Linked DNA regions of Homo sapiens: regions 2 and 3 are each linked to region 1. Evidence: promoter capture Hi-C in 16 types of primary human blood cells and fetal thymus (Javierre and others, 2016). All regions are on one chromosome and are shown on one strand. The core of a region is centred on a gene start or on the middle of the fragment in contact, and the rest is flanking DNA. Distances in the headings are between cores, read along the strand shown. Region 1 holds the start of ZRANB1 (zinc finger RANBP2-type containing 1). Region 2 overlaps OAT (ornithine aminotransferase). Region 3 overlaps EDRF1-DT (EDRF1 divergent transcript).

What was found. The method cuts DNA at HindIII sites, captures the fragments that hold promoters and counts their contacts. A CHiCAGO score of 5 or more calls a contact.
Region 2: a fragment that was not itself captured here is called in contact with the fragment with the promoter of ZRANB1 in region 1 in 3 of 17 cell types (total CD4 T cells, naive CD4 T cells and total CD8 T cells); the score reaches 6.3 in total CD4 T cells.
Region 3: a contact is called between a fragment that was not itself captured here and the fragment with the promoter of ZRANB1 in region 1, in 1 of 17 cell types (monocytes). The highest score is 5.5, in monocytes.

Annotation. Positions count from the first base shown.
Region 1 is chr10:124,940,487-124,943,758 of GRCh38, forward strand. ZRANB1 (zinc finger RANBP2-type containing 1) reads left to right here and starts at 1,637. Exons shown (of 9, transcript NM_017580.3): 1 at 1,637-2,821. The coding sequence starts at 2,008. The HindIII fragment of the contact is 2,790 bases long and covers 595-3,272 here.
Region 2 is chr10:124,410,075-124,413,410 of GRCh38, forward strand. It overlaps OAT (ornithine aminotransferase), which reads right to left. Exons shown (of 10, transcript NM_000274.4): 2 at 1,899-2,126. The coding sequence starts at 2,097. Among named protein-coding and RNA genes, the nearest start is that of OAT, 7.2 kb to the right of the region's middle. The HindIII fragment of the contact is 4,951 bases long and covers 1-3,336 here.
Region 3 is chr10:125,711,193-125,714,746 of GRCh38, forward strand. It overlaps EDRF1-DT (EDRF1 divergent transcript), which reads right to left. Exons shown (of 5, transcript NR_033847.1): 2 at 282-396. Among named protein-coding and RNA genes, the nearest start is that of EDRF1-DT, 6.5 kb to the right of the region's middle. The HindIII fragment of the contact is 2,245 bases long and covers 1,065-3,309 here.

The DNA.
Region 1 (3,272 bases), core at 387-2,886:
ACCGTACTTTTATTCTAATCATGTGCAAGGTGGAGGTTATAGCGTGGGAACTAAAATCTTAGTAAGTGTGGTTTTTATTTTAGCTATTAAGTAGTATACTTTCTTATAGTGATTTTTTTTTCTTCTTAGCAGAGTTCACACTATAAATGGTGTATGGACTTGGCAGGCAGGAACATAATACAGTATACTTCAAAAGTGAAAGATTTAGGCCAGGCGTGGTGGTTCATGCCTGTAATCCTAGCACTTTGGGAGGTCGAGGTGGGTGGATCACGAGGTCAGGAGTTCATCAAGAGAAGCCCGGCCAAGATGCTGAAACCCTATCTCTACTAAAAATACAAAAATTAGCCGGGCATGGTGGCATGCACCTGTAATCTCGGCTACTTGGGAGGCTGAGGCAGGAGAATCGCTTGAACCTGGGAGGTGGAGGTTGCAGTGAGCTTAGATTGCACCACTCCACTGCATTCCAGCCTGGGCAAAACATAGCAAGACTCCATCTCAAAAAAACAAAAATGAAAACAACAACAACAAAAAAACAAACAAACAAAAGATTTAACCCTCTAGGTTCAGGAAAAATCCCTGAGAAAGAGAGAGCAAAGCTTCTATACTCTGCCTAGGATTTCTTTCTCTTTCCGGGTGAAAAATAGGTGTTGGGATGATACTGAGTTGATAAAAGTATTTAGGAAAAGTGGCCAGTGTCTAAATTCAAGCCATTAAAAAAAAAAAAATTAAATTTGTTATGTAAGTTGCTTCATTTATGAATTAGTTGCCATTAAATTATGAAGTCTTTCTTCATTATAGTGTAGTGTTAGCCCATTGTTGAATCCTAGAAATCTTTTAAGTAGTGTGAATATCTTTTAAATATGAATTGGATTTTTTGGGGGGCAGGGGATGGAGTCTCACTCTGTCACCCAGGCTAGAGTGCAGTGGTGCGATCTTAGCTCACTGCAACCTCTGCCTGCCGGGTTCAAGCAGTTCTCTGCCTCAGCCTCCTGAGTAGCTGGGATTACAGGCACCTACCACCATGCACGGCTAATTTTTGTATTTTTATAGAGACGGGGCTTTACCATCTTGGCCAGGCTGGTCTTGAACTCCTGACCTTGTGATCTACCCGCCTCAGCCTCCCAAAATGCTGGGATTATAGGCTTGAGCTACTGCCCCCGGCCATGAATTAGATTTTGAGTATATTTTAAATATTCAAAATTTAAAATATTTTAATTATGAACATTCACAATTATATTGGAATGATTATGCTACTGGTTATTTCAGTGACCTTCCACAGATTTAATTTTCCCCAGTACAGTCTTCTTTTTTTTACTCCAGATAGAACTAGATTTTGAGGCTACAGATTATCAAGGAACTACCTATTTCATAATGTTACTTTGTTAATTGTAGCCATTACTTCTCAACATGTTTCTTTACTACCTGTGCTAATTAAGAACAGTGGATAATTAGCATTTTAAGTTGCTTTTCTCCCTTAGCGAGAATGATAAAATAGACGTTGCTTGATCTTCTGAATTCATGAATCATAATCTGTGTTCATAATTTGAGAATGGTTATGTGTTTAAGCTATTTTTTAGTTTGTGTTGTTTCCTCTACCTTTGTCTCTTTAAACTATTGGTTACTTTTCTAAATTGATGTGATGGCCTCCCTGAAATTAAACATTTCTATTAGTGGCTTCCCGTTAATCTCATCCTTCTTAGATCAAACCTCGTTATATCTCCTGCCTATCTCTTTTGCATTCCAAAGTTCAGTTTTATTAAATCCCAGGGTCTAAGATTTTTTCTTTGAGAATTTATCTCCAGTGTTTCTATGGAAATTAAAAAAGAAAATTAGGATAATTCAATGTCGAAATGTTGCATGCATCTTTTGAGAAATTTATATTTTGTAGGTTGAAGGACTTGCTTTTTGGGCAGCGTATTTTTGGAGGTGGAATGTAGTTATTTTAATAACCATGTCCTAATTATTTATAGCTTCCTGCCTGACACAGCTCACTTCAAGAAGTGCACAATGTCAGAACGTGGAATTAAGTGGGCTTGTGAATATTGTACGTATGAAAACTGGCCATCTGCAATCAAGTGTACTATGTGTCGTGCCCAAAGACCTAGTGGAACAATTATTACAGAAGATCCATTTAAAAGTGGTTCAAGTGATGTTGGTAGAGATTGGGATCCTTCCAGCACCGAAGGAGGAAGTAGTCCTTTGATATGTCCAGACTCTAGTGCAAGACCAAGGGTGAAATCTTCGTATAGCATGGAAAATGCAAATAAGTGGTCATGCCACATGTGTACATATTTGAACTGGCCAAGAGCAATCAGATGTACCCAGTGCTTATCCCAACGTAGGACCAGGAGTCCTACAGAATCTCCTCAGTCCTCAGGATCTGGCTCAAGACCAGTTGCTTTTTCTGTTGATCCTTGTGAGGAATACAATGATAGAAATAAACTGAACACTAGGACACAGCACTGGACTTGCTCTGTTTGCACATATGAAAACTGGGCCAAGGCTAAAAGATGTGTTGTTTGTGATCATCCCAGACCTAATAACATTGAAGCAATAGAATTGGCAGAGACTGAAGAGGCTTCTTCAATAATAAATGAGCAAGACAGAGCTCGATGGAGGGGAAGTTGCAGTAGTGGTAATAGCCAAAGGAGATCACCTCCTGCTACGAAGCGGGACTCTGAAGTGAAAATGGATTTTCAGAGGATTGAATTGGCTGGTGCTGTGGGAAGCAAGGAGGAACTTGAAGTAGACTTTAAAAAACTAAAGCAAATTAAAAACAGGATGAAAAAGACTGATTGGCTCTTCCTCAATGCTTGTGTGGGTAAGTTTCTGTATTCTGCATTTTTTGCGTGGGATGGGAAAAGGTAGTAAAAATGATATGAAAAGAGCTGGGTGCGCTGACACACGTTTGTGGTCTTAGCCACTTGCTTGAAACCAGGAGTTTGAGGCTGTAGTATGCCATGATCGGTCTGTGAATAGCACTTGCACTCCAGCTTGGGTAACATAGTGAGACTGTGTCTCCACGCACATGCAAAAATGTGAGTGTGTGTGTGTGTGTGTATATATATATGCGCAAAGTCACTAGCATTTGATTCATTCAGCACGATAGCTGTACTTTCAAGTATGCATACATAAAAATTTGTGTATTTGTGATCTTGTCGTAACTTTGTACTAAATTGCCCACAATTAATTGTGTTCATGTCTCTCCATTACTGGGGGCAGTGGAAACGTTTAAGTTAAAGCAAAGTTTTTACACATCAGCAGTAAAATAT
Region 2 (3,336 bases), core at 247-2,746, 530 kb before region 1:
GTGTGATACTCTTATATTGTCATTTTCTGGTACAAAGCTAAGTAATAAACTTTGGTTTTATTTGGTTAAGGCTGTTATTTATTCCAAATTGTAGATTAAATCACCATTTGGCAACTACCACCGTAATCATTTATTCAGGCAAGAATCATTAGTGGATGCTGAAATTGTGAGTAAAAGTTCATGAGTAACTGGATATTTACAGAGTTTTACACTCTGTCCCCACAAGATACTTAATACAAAGGGAAAGAAGACCAAGACAACCAAGGATTGAGGAACTGTTCTGGGTTAAAGAAGACTAAACATGACAACTGAATGCAACTCATCGGAGGTTTTTCTTTTGTTATAAAAGAGAACAAATGACATCTGGATTAGGTCTCTAGACTAATGGTGCTGTACCAGTGTTAAGTTCTTGATTTTTACAATTACTCTATGGTTATAAAAGAGAAAGTCAGCTGGGCACAGTAGCTCACACCTGCAATCCCAGCACTGTGGGAGGCTGAGTGGTAGGATCACTTGAGACCAGGAGTTCAAGATCACCCTGGGCAACATAGCAAAATCTAATCTCTACAAAAAATAAGCCAGGCATGGTAAGGCACACCTGTAGTCCCAGCTACTTGGGAAGCTGAGGTGGGAAAATCACCTGAAGCCGGGAGTTCCAGGCTGCAGTGAGCCATGATCACACCACTGAACTCCAGCCTGGGCAACAGAATGAGACCCTATCTCAAAAAGTCATTGCGTTTTTGGAAAGACACACTAAGTATTTATGGGTAAAGAGATGTCATGTGGCGGGGCGCGGTGGCTCACGCCTGTAATCCAGCACTTTGGGAGGCTGAGGTGGGTGGATCACCTGAGGTCAGGAGTTCGAGACCAGCCCGGCCAACATGATGAAACCCTGTCTCTACTAAAAATACAAAAATTAGCTGGACGTGGTGGCGTGGGCCTGTAGTCCCAGCTCCTCGGGAGGCTGAGGCAAGAGAATCACTTGAAACCGAGAGGTAGAGGTTGCAGTGAGCCGAGATCCCACCATTGCACTCCAGCCTGGGTGACAAAGCGACATTCCGTCTCAAAAAAAAAAAAAAAAAAAAAAAAAGAAGAAGAGATGTCATGTCTGCAACTTCCTCTCAAAACAGTTCAGAAAACAATGTAGAATATGCAGGCGGCGGGGGGAGAAGAGAAGGGAGTGAACACACTAAGACCAAAGCAGCAAAAAGTTAGCACTTGGAAAATCTGGGAGAAGTATAAAAGGAAAATGTCAGTACTATTTGTTACAACTTTTCTTAAGTCTAAAACTATGCCAAAATAAAAGTTAAAAGAAAAAAATGACAGCAATATGATAGTACTTTCCTTATTTCTCTTGCATTCCCTCTTGGTAAGGTCTACATGACAAAGACAATGGTTCCTCTTTGAAGCCTCCATAGCACCTAACACAGCAGCACTAGACACTCAATAAATGAATTAACTGGCCAGGCGTGGTGGCTCACACCTGTAATCCCAGCACTTTGGGAGGCCAAGGTGGGAGGATCACAAAGTCAGGAGTCTGAGACCAGCCTGGCCAACATGGTGAAACCCCATCTCTACTAAAAATACAAAAATTAGCTGGGTGTGGTGGCGCACGCCTGTAGTCCCAGCTACTCAGGAGGCTGAGGCAGAAGAATCGCTTGAACCTGGGAGGCAGAGGTTGCAGTGAGCTGGGATTGTGCCACTGTACTCCAGCCTGGGTGACAGAGTGAGACTCCGTCTCAAAAAAAAAAAAAAAAAAAGAAGAAGAAGAATTAACCATGTCTGCAATATACACATTAAACACATCTAGAAAAATGTATATTGTGAAAATATGGAAGCAATTTTTTTTTATAAAAGGTTTCAAGAAAAGGGAAAAGACGGATTAATTTGAAACGTACCTTTTCCTCTCTCCAGGGCTACAGGTAAAGGATGGTAGTTGTGTGCACCATACTTATATTCCCTTTCAAAAATGTCATCAGAGGTTGGAGGGCCTTGGACTGTTTTTTTAGTTGCAACAGATGTAGCAGAAGCCACTGAAGAATGAACTCCGCGACTAAGTACAGCAAACCTCTGCAAATGTGCTAGTTTGGAAAACATTGTGTCCTTCAAGTAGAAAAACCACAGATCTGTCCAAAGAAAAGAGAATGCATTAAGAGTGAGAATCCTTGGCTTATGCCTATAATCTCAGCACTTTGGGAGGCTGAGGTCAAAGGATCACGTGAGCCCAGGAGTTTGAGACCAGCCTGGGCAACAGAGCAAGACTCCATCACTAAAAAAAATTGAAAAATTAGCTGGGTGTAGTGGTATGCATCTGCAGTCCCAGCTACTCAGGAGACTGAGGTGGGAGGATTGCTTGAGCCCGGAAGTTGAGGCTGCAGTGAGCTGAGATTGTGCCACTGTACTCCAACCTGGGAGACAAAGAAAGGCCCAGTCTCAAGAAAAAAAAAATGGCCAGGCGTGATAGCTCACATCTGTAATTCCAGCACCTTGGGAGGCCAAGATGGGAGGATCGCTTGAGCCGAGGAGTTAAAGACCAGCCTAGGCAACATAGTCTCTATAAAAGAAAAAAAAAGAGTGAGAATCTTGAGTCAGGTGTGGTGGTTTGTGCCTGTAGCCCCCAGCTGCTCAGGAGGCTGAGGCGGGAGGATCACTTGAGCCCAAGAGTTTGAGGCCAGCCTGGGCAACAGAGTGATACCCTGTCAATCAGGCAATCAATCAACCAACCAATCAATAAGAGTAAGACTCTTTCCAGAGCTAATGCACTGTGTGTTGACTGAGTACCTGCTAAACACTAAGTATTTGTTAAGCACCTACCACAGTCCGATACCATCAGGCACAATGCTATGAGACAGCTACAACTGTAGGGCAGAGACCAGAGGCAGGGAGACCAAATCAGAGAAGACTGCCAGAGACTAGGCATGGGGCAGGAGACAGAGGAACTGTCCATCCCTCTGGGCTCAAGCAGTCCGCCCACCACGGCCTCCCAAAGTTTTCGAATTAAAGGTGTGAGCCACTGTGCCCAGCCTAAAATCTTTTATTTAGCCACAAATATCTAAAACTTCTGTAGGTCAAATTTATCATAAACAAAGGTGAAAGGCAAAAAGACTAGGAAAAAAATGTTAACTTATAATAGCTTTAAAGTGTTCACAGCAAGTTGAATTAGACCAACATATACATACATACATAAATACATACACACACACACACACACACACACACACACACACACACACACATATATGAGATTCCCAAACAAAACAATCTATTCTGCTAGGATGGTTGTTTCTACAAAACTTATCCTGAAAAATTGTAGCATAAAAGATATTGTTGACCAGG
Region 3 (3,554 bases), core at 937-3,436, 770 kb after region 1:
CTGTGATCTCTGTGTGGTACAAGATTTTCAAGGTCGCTCCTTGCTGTGGTCTGGATATATATACGTCCCCACCAAACTCATGCTGAAATTTGATCTCATTGTGGTAGTGTTGGGGGTTGGGGCCTAATGGGAGGAGTTCAGGTCATGAGGGCTCTGTCCTCTTGGGTGGCTTGGTGCTGTTCTCATGGCAGTGAGTTCTTGCTCTGGCAAGACTGGATTAGTTCTCTCAGGAATTGGTTAGTTCCTGCAAGAGTGGGTTATTATGAAGTCAGAACACCCACCTGGTTTTGCCTTTCTTCACACATGTCCATTTACCCATTGATCTTCTCTGCCATATTATGACGCAGCCTGAAACCTCTCACCAGAAGCTAGAGCCATGTGCTTGAACTTCCCAGCCTGCAGAACCATGAACTAAATCAACCTTTTTTAAAAATAAATTACCCAATCTTAGGTATTCTGTTATCATGATGCAAAACAGACTAAGACATCCCTCATCACAAAACTCTGAAAAGATTCTGCAAAAGGCCTTGTTTTTTCACCAAATTTAGCCTTGTGAATGGCACCCAATAGCCTATCCAAGCCACCATATATGCCTGTGGTAGACTGCATAATGGTTACGGATAACCAACATTCCTCCTTAGGATCCAGTCTCCCCTGCCACATGTATGCTTGGCTTGGCTATGTGATTTATTTGGCCAAAAAAAGGTGAATGACAGTGATGTTTGCCACTTCTGACCAAAAGCCTTTGTAGCTAGTCTGCAATGCACCAATCTCTTTTTGTCTCTCTGCTACTGCAACTGGCAATGCTCCAGATTGAAGCTGCTTCATCAGATGGGACATACTTATGCTAAATATTTGGGACATTCTCATCCTAAAAATTTTTTCACCGTTTATCTGAAATTCAAATTTAACTTTGCGTCCTGTTCTTTCTCTGGCTAACCCAGTTGTAAGCCACTGACACTTAGGGATCATTTGTTTTGTCAGCATAGCCCAATCTTATTTGACTAGCTCACCATGGCCCAAGGAAGAGCACCTGTGTCAATCTGTATATTACATACTAGTAAAGCTTAATTTTGCCCTTACTTTTCATATTAAAAAAAAAAGTTAGTCTTCCTGCACCTCAGGGGACTGTCTTTGGAGACCACTGTCCAAAGGTGTAGTCTACAGGGCAAGGTTGTCAGAAACTTAACAATTGCACTAAAAATGTAGACTAATCAGCACTACCCCAGAGATACTAGATTCTGGAGGTGGCTGCAGGATCTGTTTGCTAAACAAGTTCCTCAGGTGATTATGAGACAACTTCAAATTCCACTGGCCTATGTCTACTATTTGACTTTTTAGAAAGCTAAGTAAGTAGGAGACCTGGGTACTAGTCCTAACTTTGTATGATGTTCAACAAGTCAATCCTATTCTCCTTTCTGGACTGCATTGCTCTCATCTAAAGAGGAAAGAGATTGGCTCAGACAACCTCAAATCTCTCTTTCAGCTCTAAAAGTCCAGGATCAGGAGCCAGAAATTCAGAACCTTCTAAGGTCCAGAAAGTAAACAAATGAGGCTGGTTAGGGGTAAGACATTAGGTTGTGGAAGGGCCCAGGGCAAACTGAAAAGGATATTCCCCAAATGGTCCCTGAGTTTAGAAGGTTTTCAAGTTTGTCATGCTCTGCCAGTGGGGCTAGAGAAGAACCGTGAGTACCCTGGGCACTCGTACTTTCGGCAGGAGCCCCAACCACATTTGCCTTACTTATGAATGTCTTGCTGTAAAAGTTTTGGAAACTATACAAATAACTACATGAATTTACAAATGACTGGGATTTCTCAGAAATCACTGCATGCTGGGAGGATTTTTGCTGAGAAAGTCTAATCTACAAATTGTTTTAGAATGAAACAAACTGTATGTCAATACTAACTTTAATAATTAATGACATTGACATTGCAGTATTTTGGAGCTACTTCATTAAACATTTTTAGCTTTGATTTTGCAGATTAAAAAAATATTTTGGAGCCAACAACATTGTTTTTATGTCTCAAACATTTTGATGAGCATTTTAAAAGCCTGTCAACCCCAGTCATTTTCCCTCCGTTGCCTAAGGGCTGAAACAGTTCTGTCCGGGTGCTGTGCCTGGTGTCAGTGATCAGACGGGACACCAGCCTTTGAGGAGCTCACAGTCGGGGAGGGAGGCAGATACAAACAGGTAATTTTTCTATAATGTGACAAGTGCAGGATAAAGCAATACAAGCGACTGGAACAAAGGAAGGAACCCTGAGGGGTAAGGAGGCAGAGGTGTCAGGAGAGAAGCCAGGTGAGGAAGAAAAAGGTATTTTAGGCAGAGGAAAGCACCAGCAAACGTGGAGCTATGGAACAAGTAGCTGGAGCAGCAGACAAGCATGCTGCTCATTCATTCAACAAACACTCTTAGTAGCTAGAGCATCAGGCACTGAAGAGGCAAGTAAACACGTGAGAGCCATGGGTAGTTACAAGAGCCAGGATAACTACACAGACAAGGCAGAGCAGGCCATGGATGATGGGGTACATCCCAAGTGGGTCCCTGGGGCAGGAGGACAGAGATGGAGGAAACAGGCAGACACTGGTACAATATAAAAATGAAAATCAATTCGTGTCTGAAAACTTGAAATTCTAAGAGTAATGTCTTATTCTCCATGTTTTCCCACAAAATATTTCAACTTCCTATATTAAAAACAGTGACAATAACTTTTTAAAAAACACTACACCATGTAAAAGTGGGTTTTTTTTCCCCACTTATTTTTAAAATTTTTCCTGACCACTATGAGCTCCAGCAGCATGTGAAAGTGTTTGACTAGGGAAAAAGAAAAAATTAATAAGCCCTTAGAGCAAGAGGCATATATAAATTTTATGTAACCCACATGTGCCCAATTGTTCCAGCCCCCAGGGATCATGCTCCTTTACGAACTAAATTACAGTACTGTAATCCTGGTCCTGTGTGTGGCTGCTGGAGACCCAGCCCCGACTCAGGCTTTCCTCCACAGTCAGTCCTAAGGGTCACTGGTCACCCTTAGAGCTCCCATTATCCTCTGTGTGCTCCCAACCTCTCTTTCTGTGCTGACTTCCTGGTTCTGTTTCATACTTTGTCTTTTCACAAGCTATTTCCGGCACATTTTCCCACTAAGCATCATCAACACGTGTCTAGGCACTCACTTCTCAAGAAGCATGCAAAATATTTGAATCCTGAGAAAAGAATCACTGCTATTTCTTTCTTACAAAGATAGAATTACACAATAAAACAACAGAATTTAAAGATTATCACAAGCTGAATTATGTATGTGTGTAAAAGCTTAACAAAATTACATATTATAATAATCAGAAATAAAAATAGGAAAAGAAAATATTAAAGAATAAATTTTATTTTATTTTAATTTATTCTTATACTTTAAGTTTTAGGGTACATGTGCACAATGCGCAGGTTAGTTACATATGTATACATGTGCCATGCTGGTGTGCTGCACACATTAACTCGTCATTTAGCATTAGGTATATCTCCTAATGCTATCCCTCCCCCCTCCCCCCACCCCACAAC